3 separate regions of the Homo sapiens genome follow, and regions 2 and 3 are each linked to region 1. Evidence: promoter capture Hi-C in 16 types of primary human blood cells and fetal thymus (Javierre and others, 2016). All regions are on one chromosome and are shown on one strand. Each heading gives the region's core, a stretch centred on a gene start or on the middle of the fragment in contact. The rest is flanking DNA. Distances are from core to core; before and after follow the strand shown.

Region 1 (4,816 bases), core at 1,599-4,098:
GCCCTTTCCCAAAACAAACCTCCTTGCCTGGGGACTAGACTGCCTTTGTAGGACTAACAAATTACTCACAAGATTAGAAATTATGGTTTAGGGGTAGGTCGTAATGGCTCACGCCTGTAATCCCAACATTTTGGGAGGCGAAAGCGGGTGGATCACTTGAGGTCCAGAGTTCGAGACCAGCCTGGCCAATATGAGGAAACCTCGTCTCTACTAAAACTACAAAAATTGGCTGGGCATGGTGGCGCGCGCCTGTAATCCCAGCTGCTTGGGAGGCTGAACAGGAGAATCGCTCGAACCTGGGAGGCAGAGTTTACAGTCTCCATCCTGGGCAACGCAGTGAGACTGTCTCAAAGAAAAAAAAAAACACACACATTATGGTTTAGGAGTCCTGCAGCTGGAACCTACAAGATTCTGACCCCACGTAAACTGCTCCTAAGATCAGTGCTTGAGATATTTTGCAGACCTGATGGATCAGTTGGCCCCACCCAGATTGGTAAACTGACTCATCCGATCTTGTGGCCTCCACCCAGAAACTGACTCAGCCCAAGGAGACACCTTCAGCTCCCTATAATGACATCTCTGACCTGACCAATCAGGACTCCTGGTTCATCGGCTTCCCCCCCATCTGGAATGCTGGGGAGACTGATTTGAGTAACAATAAAACTACGGTCTCCCGCACAGCTGGCTCGGCGTGAATTACTTTCTCTATTGCAATTCCCTGCCTAGATAAATCAGCTTTGTCTAGGCAGTGGGCAAGGTGAACCCATTAGGCAGTTTCATTATTTGCTTTACAAAAATCAATAGATAAAACACTTAGCCAATGTTGTTATTGAAGCTGGATGAGAGGAACATAGGTTTTATTAAACTATTATCTCCTTTCCCATATATTCTGGAATGTCAAATAAGTTTTTAAAATAAAAGCAATATGTGAAAAAAAATGACAAGTTGCTAAATTAATAAAGATCATAAAGAAGGATCTGCTGAATACCCAAACAGGGCCTTGTGCTAATCTGTAAAGGAAGGGTTCTATATGAAAACATATCTTGGTTGTATGCCAAGCAGCCCAGGATGGTATGTGTTCCTCCTTGTAACATCCCTAAAAACCTGATACTTCCAATCACTAAAAGGACCTCGGTGGTTCAAAAAAACAAAAAACAAAACAAAACAAAAAAGAAAAAACTTACATTAGTGTTGCCCTAAGAAATTCTTATAAAAGCCAGGTGTTGAAAGATAGTCAAGCAAGCCAGAAAGTCTTTAGAGACCAGTATATTCTCTCTGAAGGCAAACTACAAGGAAACTGATTCAATTAGAAAACTGCTAAGCCTAGAGTCAAACCAGAGCTAATAAGAGTATTAAAATTTATGTAGCAAGGAGTCTCAGCCCCAGCTGTTAGAAGCACCTGAATTTTAATAATTACCATTCCCTGGGCCCACTCTAGATTGCTATTAGTCTCATTGAACCCCAGGTAAAGATTTTTCTAAAGCCTTCCCATGTGACTGTAATGTTACATTGAGAAAACTGATCTGTAAAGAAATCAAACTATTTTAGGGGATTGTTCTGTGCACTTGCTTTAGAGAACATTTCATAGAATATTTCATTCTGTAACATAAATAAACATGCATTTTGCAAAAGCTCACTCCTTGTAAGAGTTCACAGGCAGGATGCCTTTACTGATGAGACCAAAACCAACAACCTAGGCTTCCTAAATCAGTGTTCATGAGAATCATCTGAGGTATATGCAGATTGACTCCAGCCCTAGATGGGGATTGAAACAAGCTCCCATGTAATGCCCTGGGAGCTTCTAACAAGTTCCCACGTAATGCCCATGCTGCCAGTAATGTAGAGGCCAATCTGGCTTTCGTTTCTGCCGCCAATTTCTAATATTGAATTAAAAAATGGATCATTTCACAGAAAAACCAAGAACTGTTTAAAAAAAGGGGGAATTGTGGAAATAGCTGCTTCAGACACGAAAAAGCAGCAACCAAGGATATCCCTACCTACTCTCAACTGCCAATGCTCATACCTGTAAAGTTTTAAAAGGGATTAACCAGAAATACACAACGAAAAAAAATCCCATCTATAATGGGTGTAAGTAGACAACGCGACTAACGCTTGAGACAATGTATATAAACGCCCCCAGGTGGCCCCTTCCACTACCAAATCGAAGCTCCAAACCCCTAAAAGCCAGTTTAGAAAAGGACGCTGACAATCTGGCACTTTCGGGAAAAAGCACGGGAACAAATATAGCAAGCTTACCATTAACTTTAGCCAATCAAATGAGGACTTAAGTACTAAAACCAATGTTTAGTTTCAAAGATTTGATTAGTTAATCACAGCTATTTTCGGGTGAAAGTAGGCGGCTCTTAAAAGAGCCTTTTTAAGTTGGATAGAATTACTGCCCGGAAACCTCTACGCTCTCTCCCCACGAATGCGGCGAGCGAGCTGAATGTCCTTGGGCATGATAGTCACTCGCTTAGCATGGATGGCACACAGGTTGGTATCCTCAAAGAGCCCCACCAAGTAGGCCTCGCAGGCCTCCTGCAGGGCCATCACCGCGGAACTCTGAAAGCGCAGATCTGTCTTGAAGTCCTGAGCGATTTCTCGCACCAGGCGTTGGAAAGGCAACTTGCGGATCAGCAGCTCAGTCGACTTCTGATAGCGGCGAATCTCGCGCAGAGCCACGGTGCCGGGACGGTAGCGATGAGGTTTCTTCACGCCGCCGGTGGCCGGCGCGCTTTTCCGAGCCGCCTTAGTGGCCAGCTGCTTGCGCGGCGCTTTGCCACCGGTGGACTTGCGTGCAGTCTGCTTGGTGCGGGCCATCTCAGACTACCTGAAAGAAAAACTCAGCCACTTGGCAGAGTGGAAACTGCCCTTATATATACTCAGAAACATTCTAATTGGCCTTGTTGATTTTCAAAAGACCCGCGCAACAAAACCATTGGCTGAAGAGTCCAACGATGTGATTGGTGAATTACTGGAAAATCTGATTGGATGAATCACTTCATTTTTGAATCCTCTCTTCTCGGTTAGTCTGCGATCCAAGAACGTTAACTTCTTAAAGTTCTAATTCTGCGCTTCTCAAGCTGTAGTCCGTAAACGACTACTTTAAGACTTGGAAGACGCTAATTCTCATTCAGTAGATGTGTTGTGGGGCCAGATTCGGAGGACCACGTTTTGAGAAGTTTATCTTGTGCCGTTTTCTTGAGTCACCTGGACTGCTGCTAGCTGGAAACCTTTGACCATTATAAGGCAGGATTCCTGGGTGATGTACCTGGGAAATCACGAGCCAAGAAGTCACCGACATACAACAGTGAGCAACAAATGTTAACTGAATTCTATTTTGTCCCAAATGGTGTTTTGCTTCGGTTGAGAATTTTTAAGGCACAGGCTAATTTTAGGTTTTCCAACGACTCTTATCATTTACTTTTCGTTGGGTCCTATTGATGATATTCCAGGATACCACCCCCACTAGCCTCTTCTGCAGGATAACTTGAACACTGCAGTGGCCCTGTCCATCTAAACTTTACAAGGTTTTGTAAACGTTACTGAACTTGCTTCTTCCCGACTACATTAAAGCACTTACTTGAGATATTAAACATTTTCTCATTAGTCCTGTTTGCCTAGTCAGTCACTTGTATAGACAGGGCAACAGCACGGCCTGAATATTGGGCAGGACACCGCCCTGCGCGATAGTAACTTTGCCCAACAGCTTGTTGAGCTTCTCGTCGTGGATGGCGAGCTGCAGGCGTCGGGGGGTGACGCGGGTCTTCTTGTCTCGGGCCGCGTTGCCCGCCAACTCCAGGATCTTGGCGGTCAGGTACTCCAGCACCGCCTCCAGGTACACCGGCGCACCGGCCCGGACCCGCTTGGCGTAGTTGCCCTTGCGGAGGAGGCGGTGCACTCGGCCCACAGAAAACTGGAGACCAGCCCTGGAAGAGTGCGTTTTAGCCTTGGCGCGAGCTTTGCTGCCCTGCATTCCACATCCAGACGCAGTGAAGTATTTAAATACTTGTTTAGAAGAAGGAAAGTGATTGATTCTAGTAAAACGCAAGAGCTAAACTCTTATAATCTATATTCGGCAAAGTAGACTGTGCTATCTCCTGAACACAGATTTCAGCCAATCGAAAAGCAGGTGTTTAAAAAAATTTAAAAAAAAAAAAAAAAAAAAAACCACTTCTGACTTACATACTTATAGTTGAAAGGTCAAATTATGCAAGGTTGAGCTTCTGGGAGAGCCGATGAGATTTAGGAGTTCAGAAATGGCCTATCATATATTCAGACACTAAAAGAACCAATGAGAAACCGAAACTCAGCCAGCCTCATTTGCATATACACGAGGTAAATAATGAGGGCGTTTGGGCTCACCAGCATTTTCCTGTGGTCATTTGACGGTATCACTTCGGCTGCGAACATGCCTGAACCAGCTAAGTCAGCTCCCGCCCCGAAGAAGGGCTCCAAGAAGGCGGTGACCAAGGCACAGAAGAAGGATGGCAAGAAGCGCAAGCGCAGCCGCAAGGAGAGCTATTCCGTGTACGTGTACAAGGTGCTGAAGCAGGTCCACCCCGACACCGGCATCTCGTCCAAGGCTATGGGGATTATGAACTCCTTCGTCAACGACATTTTCGAGCGCATTGCAGGCGAGGCTTCCCGCCTGGCGCATTATAACAAGCGCTCGACCATCACTTCCAGGGAGATCCAAACGGCTGTGCGCCTGCTGCTACCCGGGGAGCTGGCCAAACACGCGGTGTCGGAGGGCACCAAGGCGGTCACCAAGTACACCAGCTCCAAGTAAACTAGTTACCTGGGTAAAAGCGCT
Region 2 (4,816 bases), core at 662-3,161, 260 kb before region 1:
TATTCAGTTGGAGCCTTGATGGTGTTAGGGAGAAGCAGCATTCTGTAGTCAAAGTGTTAAGCCTCAGTTTATTAGCATGCCTATATCTTGGGGCTGGGACCGTCACAAGTGTTTATAATGATACAACTCCTCCTCCTCCTCCTTCTCCTCCTCCTCTTCCTCAAGTGTTTATAATGATACAACTCCTCCTCCTCCTTCTCCTCCTCCTCTTCCTCAAGTGTTTATAATGATACAACTCCTCCTCCTCCTCCTTCTCCTCCTCTTCCTCAAGTATTTATAATGATACAACTCCTCTTCCTCCTTCTCCTCCTCCTCAGACCTTTGCTCCTTTCCTGGCTGCACCATTTCCAATTTATTTTCATGAAGCTCTGATCCCTGTTGACTAATTTTCTTCCCTTAAGTGAGACAGAAAGCCTAGATGAGGCTGCAGTGGGAAGAATTACCTTCTCCCAGCTGGGATAAGACTCTGGCAAAATGTTTTCCCCTTGAGAGTAGGCCTTTGTTTTGAAGAAGGTTCTGGGGTGTATTTCATAATAATTCTTCTCTCCCTGCCAAAGCCACAAGAGGATCCTTCTCAGATCTTCACTGCAGGAACCTGGTGGGCTTTCTGATGCCCACAAAAGTGTGGGAGCTTCTCACTCTCATGGGCATTCACAGTTGGCCTCCAGCTTTTTGTCAGAGTTACCAATTTAAATGTTCTCAAATGTGATACTGTCTCAACTTCCAGGACATCACACACTCATGATTTTCTACTATCCTGACATTTGCAGTCTTTTTAGCAGATCTCCCTCCCTCTCCCTGCACCATGGGTATTGGTCATCTCAGGATCTGTCCCAGGCTTTCTACTCTTCATGCCCTTTGAGACAACACATGATCTGACCTGCCCTTTCAGGAAGAAATGTTCTGTCTACCTACTTGCTCCAGTTAAAAACCCTAGTGTCATCTTTGACCCTTCTCATCCCTACATCTAATCTGTTGATTCTACCTCCTAATTTTCTCTCAAACGCATCTATTTTTCTTCAATTTCAGTGCTACTCTCTTGCTCTAATTGTACATCATCTTTTTTAGAATTACTGTGACATTTTCTTGCCTCCAGTTCTGCCTCAGTCCATCCACTTCACAGCTAAATTTTGGATGTACACTTTTGAACTATTACTGTAGCAAAAGTAATATGTAATAACTGTAATGCAGAAATATAAAATATGCAATATAAAAGAAATACATGCATAAATGATCCCAACACTAAGGAAACAATATTGATCAATAATTAAATAATTGGTGGATAGTGAATGACAACATAGAGCAAAGTGTTCAGTAGGTTTTAAAAGCTGTGGGTTCAATAAATGCTCATGAAGCTTGTTCAGGGGCTTGCAAAATATGTAATTTGAATTTTTAAAGAAAAGGAATTTCAGATAAGAAAAAACATACATAACATGAAACAATACTTGTGGTGGTTTCAGGGAGGTCATGTTCTCACATTCAGGTGCCAAGGCCACCGTACATCCGGACACTGAGGCCACGGACTTGGTCTGCAACCTCCATGACAGCCTTGTAGATTTGAAACCGAACTCCAAGGAGCAGTTGTGCTGTGAGTTCCAGAGTTTGGGGACAGAGGAAACACCATTCTTTGGAAGTCTAACTTCCTTAAGAGGTGTCCCTTAGACATCTAGTGTCCGGTGTTATGGAGGTCCTTGTGCTCTGAGGAAGGAGCCCCTTGTTGATTGATGGAGCAAAATTTTTTTAAACAAGGAACTGTACCCGTATCTGGGCATGAAGCCAGAGAAATCCCTGAGGGCAGGGCCAAGGCTCTCAAAGATTTTCAGGGAGATTCCCAGCCTTTTTAAGTCTCGCCTATTCTTTTTTTTTTCTCTAACTGGCCATTTTGTATATATGGAGGTTATTGATTTTTTTGCTTTTATATCCTGATATTTTAATAACTGTTCATTTTTTAGTTATTTGAATTATCTACATTGATTATTTGAATGTTCTTTTTTTTGTTTTTTTGAGACGAAGTCTCGCTCTGTCGCCCAGGGTGGGGTGCAGTGACAGGAACTTGGCTCACTGCAACCTCTGCCTCCTGGGTTCAAGCGATTCTCCTGCCTCAGTCTCCTGATTAGCTGGGATTACAGGTGCCCGCCACCACACCCAGCTAATTTTTGTATTTTTACTAGAGATGAGGTTTCACCATGTTGGCCAGTCTGGTCTCAAACTCCTGACCTCAGGTGATCCACCCACATCGGCCTCCCAAAGTGCTGGTATTACAGACATGAGCTATTGCACTTGGGCTTTGAATTTTCTACGTATCTGACTTCTACGAAGAAAACTATAATGTATTACTCAGATAAATTAAACAGGAAAACTAAATAATGGAGGAGTATATTTACAGTTGAAGCGGTCAATATTTTAAAGGTATTAATTGTCCCCAAACTGATCTACAAAACCATTGTAATCCTAATCAGATTCCCAATAAGCTTTATTATAGAAATTGACAAACAGGGTTCAAATTTAATACACAAATCCAAGGGCCCAAAATAAACAAATCTGTTGCTTTATTAAATATCAAAACTGATAAAATGACAATAATCAGGGCAGTGTTGTCCAAAAATAGACAAACGAATGGAACAGGCTCAAACAAATATGGACATTGATTTACATCTAAAGTGGCACCATACAACAATGGTGAAAGGACTCTTGTAAATAAATGGCATGGGACAATTGTATAGCCTTTTAAACAGAAAAAGAACAAAAAGGAAAAAAAAAGAAACTTGACCCCCTACTTCACACTATACACAAAAAACAATTCCAGGGGAACTAACATGAAAAGCAAAATAAAGTTAAACATGAAAAGCAAAATAAAGTATATGGTAAAAAATTTATCTTACCCAAAAAGAGGTCTAGCCTTTGCCCTCAGCTACTGGGAGATGAATTTTAGACCCTTGAAATGTTCTCACTGATAAGTGTGTCTTTGTTTACCTGGAGGTTTTGACCACCACACAGTCAACAATGTGATTTATAATAGGAACTTTGAGCCACACAGTATCAGCTCTACCTGTGGAGGTAGACTAAAAGATCGGCCATGTGAGCAGTCAACCATGGCAGGCCATTAAAACTGCACACTGAGGCTCGGGTGAAATACAGTTCTCTTGTATACGGTTTCTACATGGTTTTAGTTCCTGTGGTCTACTGCAGTCCAAAAATAATAAACGGTAAATTTCAGAAATAAACATTCACCTAACTTTTATACAGTATATTCTTAACAATTATTCTAATTTATTGTTATTAATCTCTTACTGTGCCTAATTTATAAATTAAGCCTTATCATAGCTGTGTCTGTATAGGAAAAAACAGCTATATAGAGTTCAGTACTATCCATGGTTTCAGACATCCACTGGAGGTCCTGGAACATATGTTTTGTGCATAAGTGGGGACTGCTCTGTACGTCATGTGTATTGTCACACATTAATGCTGGGAAAGTAATACTGTTCATATTACTGGGAGAGGACAACTGGAAGCTCATATTTGGAACTTGCCTGGATTGTGCCTATATTAGTTTCCTAGGGCTGCTGTAACAAAGAGCTAGAAGCTAGGGTGGCTTAAAACAACAAATATATTCTCTTGTAGTTCTGGAAGCTAGAAATCTGACATGAAGGTATCATTAGATCTATGCTTCCACTGAAGCCTGTAGGAAAATCCTTCCTTGACTCTTCCTAGCTTCTCGTACTTGCTGGCAACCTTTGACATTCCTTGACCTGCAGCTGCATAACCTCAGTCTCTGCCTGTGTGTGTCTGTCTTCACGTGACCACCTTAGAAGAATACTAGTTCTATTAAAAAATATATATATACTACTTCTTCTAAGTCACCAGCCCATCATACTGTACTATAACCTCATCTTAACTAATTATATCTGCAACTATCCTATTTCCAAATAAGGCCACAATTCTGAGGTACTGGGAGTTGGGACTTTAAACATATCTTCTGGGGGCAAGGGAGATCTGCATACAATTCGATCCATAATACTGCCTTGTGTGTTTCTTTTCTCAGCTGATTTTAATCTTTATTCCTTGAGTTGTTTCCCCTTTTCAACTATTACAAACAATGAATTTTGCTGTGTATGTGTCTTGGTATATATGTGCACACATATCTGCTGTTTGTATACCTCAGAGTGAAATTGTTGGGTCAAATGCTAAAATCTTTTTAAAAGTAGTTGTATAATTTTACATTGCATTGGAATGACATAATAAGCTATATATCCTATAATAAATTGTAACCATGAGGCTAACAGCTTCAGCAAGTTCTGTGAGTCCTTTTAGCAAATTACTAACCTAAGGTTGATTGGGAACCACAGACCTCCCAACTTATAATTGGTGTTAGAAGTGAGGGTAGTCTTGAGAACTAATTTCACAAGAAGGTATTATAAAATAAGATCTTCATGACCTTGAAATAGAAAATGATTTTTTAAATAAGATACAAAAAAGGTTGTGCATAAAAGGGCAGTGTGCTTAATTTGAGTACACTAAATTAATGACTTTAATGCATCATGAGATATCATTGGCTGGGTGCAGTGGTGGCTCACACCTCTAGTCCCAACACTTTGGGAGGCCAAGGTTGATGGATTGCTTGAGCTCAGGAGTTTGAGACCAACTTGGGCAACAGCACCATCTCTACAAAAAAATACAAAGATTAGCTGGGCATGGTGGCCTGCACATGTAGTCCCACCTACTAAGGAGGATAAGATGGGAGGATCGCTTGATCCTGGGAGGTGGAGGCTGCAGTGAGCTGTGATTGTGCCACTGCACTCCAGCCTCTGACAGAGTG
Region 3 (4,816 bases), core at 1,393-3,892, 260 kb after region 1:
TGCCTCAGTGCCCTTCTCTTTAAAATGGAGGAAATAACTGTACCTTTCCTCATAACTATGCAGTAAGGATTACATGACTTGGAATATGTAAAAAGCTTAGAAGAGTGTCTGGCAAACAACAAATGCCTGATACATTGTATTTTTTTTTTCATAGTTGAGTACCTGCTTGTATTAGGGTCCTTCAGAAATACCGAACTAATAGTCTATCTATCTATTAACTATGTATGTATGTGTGTATGTATCTATCTATCTATGCCTGTCTATGGAGAGAGAGACAGTAATTTATGATAAGGAATTGGTTCACACAATTATGGAGGAGGCTGAGAAGTCCCACAATCTGCCATCTGCTAGCTGGAGCCCCAGAAAAACAGGTAGTGTAATTCAGTTTGGGTCTCAATCAGGCCTGAAAGCCCCGGGAGTCAACGAAGTAAATCCCAGTCCAAGAGCAAGAGGAAAAAAAATGAGATGTAAATCAGTGGGGTAGGGGGAGAAGAGGTGAATTCCTCCTTCCTCAACCTTTGTTCTATTAAGGCCCTTAACAAATGGGAGGGATCATACCCGGGAGGGCAATTTGCTTTACTGAGTCCCTGATTCAGATGATAATCTCATCCAGAAGCACCCTGAGATAAGGTCTCGCTCTGTCACCTAGGCTAGAGTGCAGTGGCACAACCAGGGCTCGCTGCAGCCTCGATCTTCTGGGCTCAAGCATTCCTCCCACCTCAGTCTCATGAGTAGCTGGGACTACAGGTGCGTACCACCACACCTGGCTAATTTTTAATTTTTTTTTTTTTGTAGCGACATGAGGGCCTCACTATGTTGGCCAGGCTGGTCTCAAACTCCTGGGCTCAAGCGATCCTCCTACCTCGGCCTCCCAAAGTGCTGGGAGTACGGGCATGAGCCACCAAGCCCAGCCAGAAACAATGTGTAATCTGAGTATCTAATGAACCACTCTAATTGACACATAATATTAATCATCACACTGCTGTTGGCCAGGCCCTGTGCTGGTCTCTGGAGATACAGCAGTGAAGAGGACAGGCACAGCCCTTGCCTTGAGAAGTAAACAGGCTAGCTCAGACAGATATGAAGCAAGTAGATGAGCATCGCTACTTAGAATGCAATGGGAAACACAGTCCCTTCTAGCTCCACCTGCCCATAGGAGAACCTCAGCAGCTGAGCTAGAGGCCCTACTTAATCCACAACTTGTAAATTCAAATGCTATCCAAACTGCTTTGGTAAGGCATTGTCTTTTTAAAAGAAAGCATGAAACACCTGACACTTATCAACTGCCAAGTCAAATGTTCTCCGCCTATCTCCAGACAAAAAACAGTTTTAAGACTTGCACATACCCTCACCTAACTGCTTTCCACTTATCTGAACTGAGCATTCTCTTCCTCACCTTTAGTTACACACTGTTCCCTTTGCCCAGGGCATCTATTCTACTCCTCCCACGTCTATCCTCTTTCCTTGACAAGTTCTGTGTCTCCCTCATGGCTCAGTGTGGGTATCACTTCTTCCATAAAGTCTTCCTTCCACCTTCGCCCAATCAGGGTTTTTGTTTGTCTGTTTTTCTGTTTTGTTTTGTTTTTTTCAGCCTCAACCTCCTGAGCTCAAGAGATCCTTCCGCCTCAGCCTCCCGAGTAGCTACGGCTACAGGTACACACCATTATGCCAGGCTAATTTATTTTATGTAGAGATGTGGTCTCACTATGGACTATGTTGCCCAAGCTGGTCTTCAGCTCCTGGCTTCAAGTGATCCTCCTACCTTAGCATCCCAAAGTGCTGAGATTACAGAGGTGATCCCCACTGCACCCAGCCCCACACAGACAGGTTTGTTTTCAAATGAGGCTGCAGGCCAGCGCAGTGACCCATGCCTGTAATCCCAACACTTTGGAAGACCTAGGCCAGAGTATGTCTGGAGCCCAGGAGTTGGAGAACAGCCTGGACAATATTATGAAACCCTATCTCTACAAACAAAACAAAAATCACCTGGACGTGGTGGCAGACCCATAGTGGCACACACTGGTAGGCCTAGCTACTCAAGGAGGCTGAAGCAGCAGGATTGCTTGAGCCCAGGAGTTCAAGACTGCAGTGAGTTAGGATTGTGCTATTGCACCCCAGCCTGGGCAACTGAGCCAGACTCTGTCCCTAAAAAAAATAAATAAATAAGCAAATGTGGGGCCGAGCGTGGTGGCTCACACCTGTAATCCCAGCACTTCGGGAGGCCGAGGCAGGTGGATCACTTGAGGTCAGGAATTCGAGACAAGCCTGGCCAACATGGTGAAGCCCGTCTCTACTAAAAATACAAAAAGTAGCCGGGCGTGGTGGTGGGTGCCCGTAGTCCCAGCTACTCGGGAGGCTGAGGCAGGAGAATCGTTGAACCCAGGAGGCAGAGGTAGCAGTGAGCCAAGATTGCGCCATTGCACTCCGGCCTGGGCAACAGAGCGAGACTCCATCTCTAAATAAATAAATAAATAAATAGGCAAGTGTGGCTCAAAGCACCCTGTACTCCCAATAGTATTACATCCCACTATACTATAACTGCCATTAAATTGTTCTCCCTTCCCATCAGCCTCTTCACCCATGTGTGATTAGCATGGTAACTGCCACATAGTAATTGGCCATTGACAAATAGCCACTCACTAGACAAACAAGCATCTGATTGCAAACCATTTCCACTTTTACACATAAATTGTTTCCATGATGTATCCATATATGGAGAACTAGGAAGACATAGGCTTTTGGGAAAGATAGTGAGACTCATCACCTGGAATATTCAATAGCTTCAGTAGCCAGTACCACTACTGCCAACTCAGTGTACAGACCATGCAATCTGTTGAGGGCCACTTGGCCACAAGCCTCCTATAAAGGTATTTCTGGAGCTGATGGAGCAGGAGAGTGGAAATGAGGCAGGATTGGTAAGGGGATGAATTAGTGATTTAGTGTTGACATCTGCACCAGTGACCCAGCCTGTCTTATCATTTGAGGGAAGTTTGTATCTGGGCCTAGGGAAAAAGAACAGAAGATAGAAGGCTCTAGTGAAAAAAAAGAAGGGTCTGCCTTTCCATTGGTGCTTGATGTTTATAAAGAAAAGTGGGGAATTGGCCGGGGGCGGTGGTTCACACCTGTAATCCCAGCACTTTGGGAGGCCGAGGTGGGCAGATCACCTGAGGTCAGGAGTTCAAGACTAGCCTGACCAGCATGGTGAAACCCCGTCTCTACTAAAAATACAAAAATTAGCCGGGCATAATAGTGGGCGCCTGTAATCCCAACTACTCGGGAGGCTGAGGCAGGAGAATTGCTTGAACCCTGGAAGCAGAGGTTGCAGTGAGCCAAGATCACACCACTGCACTCCAGTCTGGGTGACAGAGCGAGGCTCCGTCTCAAAAAAAAAAAAAAAAACAACAACAAAAAAGAAAAGTGGGGAATTAAGCTGCGGAATGGGAGTAGAAAGTCTCCATAAAAGTAGAGTTGCTTCTGAGCTGTTCCTCCAAGTGTTGGGATTTTGTCTCCAGAGCTAGAACAGGAAATCATATTGCAAGCCTTGACAATCTACATAAAATAATATGCTCTGAAAGCAAAAGCCAGAGAAGTGGAACTTTCTGTGCCAGGTGAGCTGTGGGCTGGGTCTTGGGAGATGGGTGAGAGGGTTGGTAATAGTTACAGTGAACTTCCATTTCCTTGGTCTTGTGTTTCTATGTGGAGAACTTCTGCTAAGAGTAAAACTGACTTCTTTCCTACTTCTCAATTTCTCTTTCTTCCTCTTGGAGAGTTTGGGAGAAGGCATCTCAACCCTTCCTGGACTTCTTCAAGTCAGCCTGTTCTAGTGGGCCCCATAAGCAAATGGAGGCTTCTCTGACAGCTTCTTTTCTCAAGTCTTGGTGACAAATATTTGTTTTTGCTTTGATTTGTTCCTTTCCAAAAAACTCTGAGTACAATGCAATCTTTTTAAATAGCGAATCACAGCTTGTTTTATGTGGCCAGATCTTACTGTTTGCTGTGAATTTTCAGAGATGCTACAGCCTTCTCAACAACAGATTATGAATCATTCCAAAGATTGACCTTCTAAAAACATTACCTGCAGATTCTGACAATGAATCTGTTTAGGATTTCCCCAGGAAAGAAAATAGAATGACTAGAGATTATGATGTTGCTTGTAGTTTAAATTTGGTGTTTGCCTTCTGCTTTCCCTGGTTCCTCTCGTACATGTTGTAAGATATAACATGTGGAAGAAAAGTGTAAGAAAAGCAAGAAATTCAGAATTTCATTATTCTGAAAGAAAGCCAAATTTATCTTTGCTTCTTTTTCGTAAACAAGGAGGTTTCACACCGGACGCATATAAAACACTTTGATGGAGCCCCATAGGGGAAAATAACCTTTCACGCATACTTCAACTGTTCCGTGGGTACTTTGAATGCAGGAAAACTACAACAGGCCCCGCTGGGATTCGAACCCAGGATCTCCTGTTTACTAGACAGGCGCTTTAACCAGCTAAGCCACGGAGCCACCATGCCTGCGGTGGTACAAATGAGCATAGAAAAGAGATGATCTTTGCCTTTGTTCTGTGCATTGATACACTTTCTTGTTACTGAGGTTTGAAAGTAGCTACACGCTTCTTCAGACACTGAAGATTAACCTTGGCTTCGCCCCAAAAGACCTAAGAAACCGCTCAGCTGCAGGATAACGAGGTTTTTCGCGTGGGGGAGGTGGGGGGTGAGGGAAAGGCTGGCGATAGCCTGACCCCCGCCCCGGGGCGAACAGGAGAGTCCTCCGAGAAACTGCCTCAAATAGCAAGCAGCTCATCCTAACGTGGATAAAG

The links. The method cuts DNA at HindIII sites, captures the fragments that hold promoters and counts their contacts. A CHiCAGO score of 5 or more calls a contact.
Region 2: a fragment that was not itself captured here is called in contact with the fragment with the promoter of H3C8 in region 1 in 1 of 17 cell types (neutrophils); the score reaches 5.1 in neutrophils.
Region 3: a contact is called between a fragment that was not itself captured here and the fragment with the promoter of H3C8 in region 1, in 15 of 17 cell types (erythroblasts, M2 macrophages, fetal thymus and 12 more). The highest score is 13.9, in erythroblasts.

The regions. Positions count from the first base shown.
Region 1 is chr6:26,268,565-26,273,380 of GRCh38, forward strand. It overlaps H3C8 (H3 clustered histone 8), which reads right to left and starts at 2,849. Exons shown (of 1, transcript NM_003534.3): 1 at 2,354-2,849. The coding sequence starts at 2,820. The coding sequence ends at 2,410. It overlaps H2BC10 (H2B clustered histone 10), which reads left to right and starts at 4,367. Exons shown (of 1, transcript NM_003525.3): 1 at 4,367-4,816. The coding sequence starts at 4,412. The coding sequence ends at 4,792. It also overlaps the pseudogene H2AC10P. RefSeq lists enhancers at 381-977, 1,751-1,890, 3,618-3,957, 4,288-4,627, 4,698-4,816. The HindIII fragment of the contact is 12,049 bases long and covers 2,250-4,816 here.
Region 2 is chr6:26,006,888-26,011,703 of GRCh38, forward strand. No RefSeq gene overlaps it. Among named protein-coding and RNA genes, the nearest start is that of H1-1, 8.5 kb to the right of the region's middle. The HindIII fragment of the contact is 1,116 bases long and covers 1,354-2,469 here.
Region 3 is chr6:26,528,488-26,533,303 of GRCh38, forward strand. TRT-AGT2-1 (tRNA-Thr (anticodon AGT) 2-1) reads right to left here and starts at 4,503; the gene lies at 4,430-4,503. RefSeq lists a cis regulatory region at 4,217-4,816 and a silencer at 4,386-4,475. The HindIII fragment of the contact is 5,099 bases long and covers 94-4,816 here.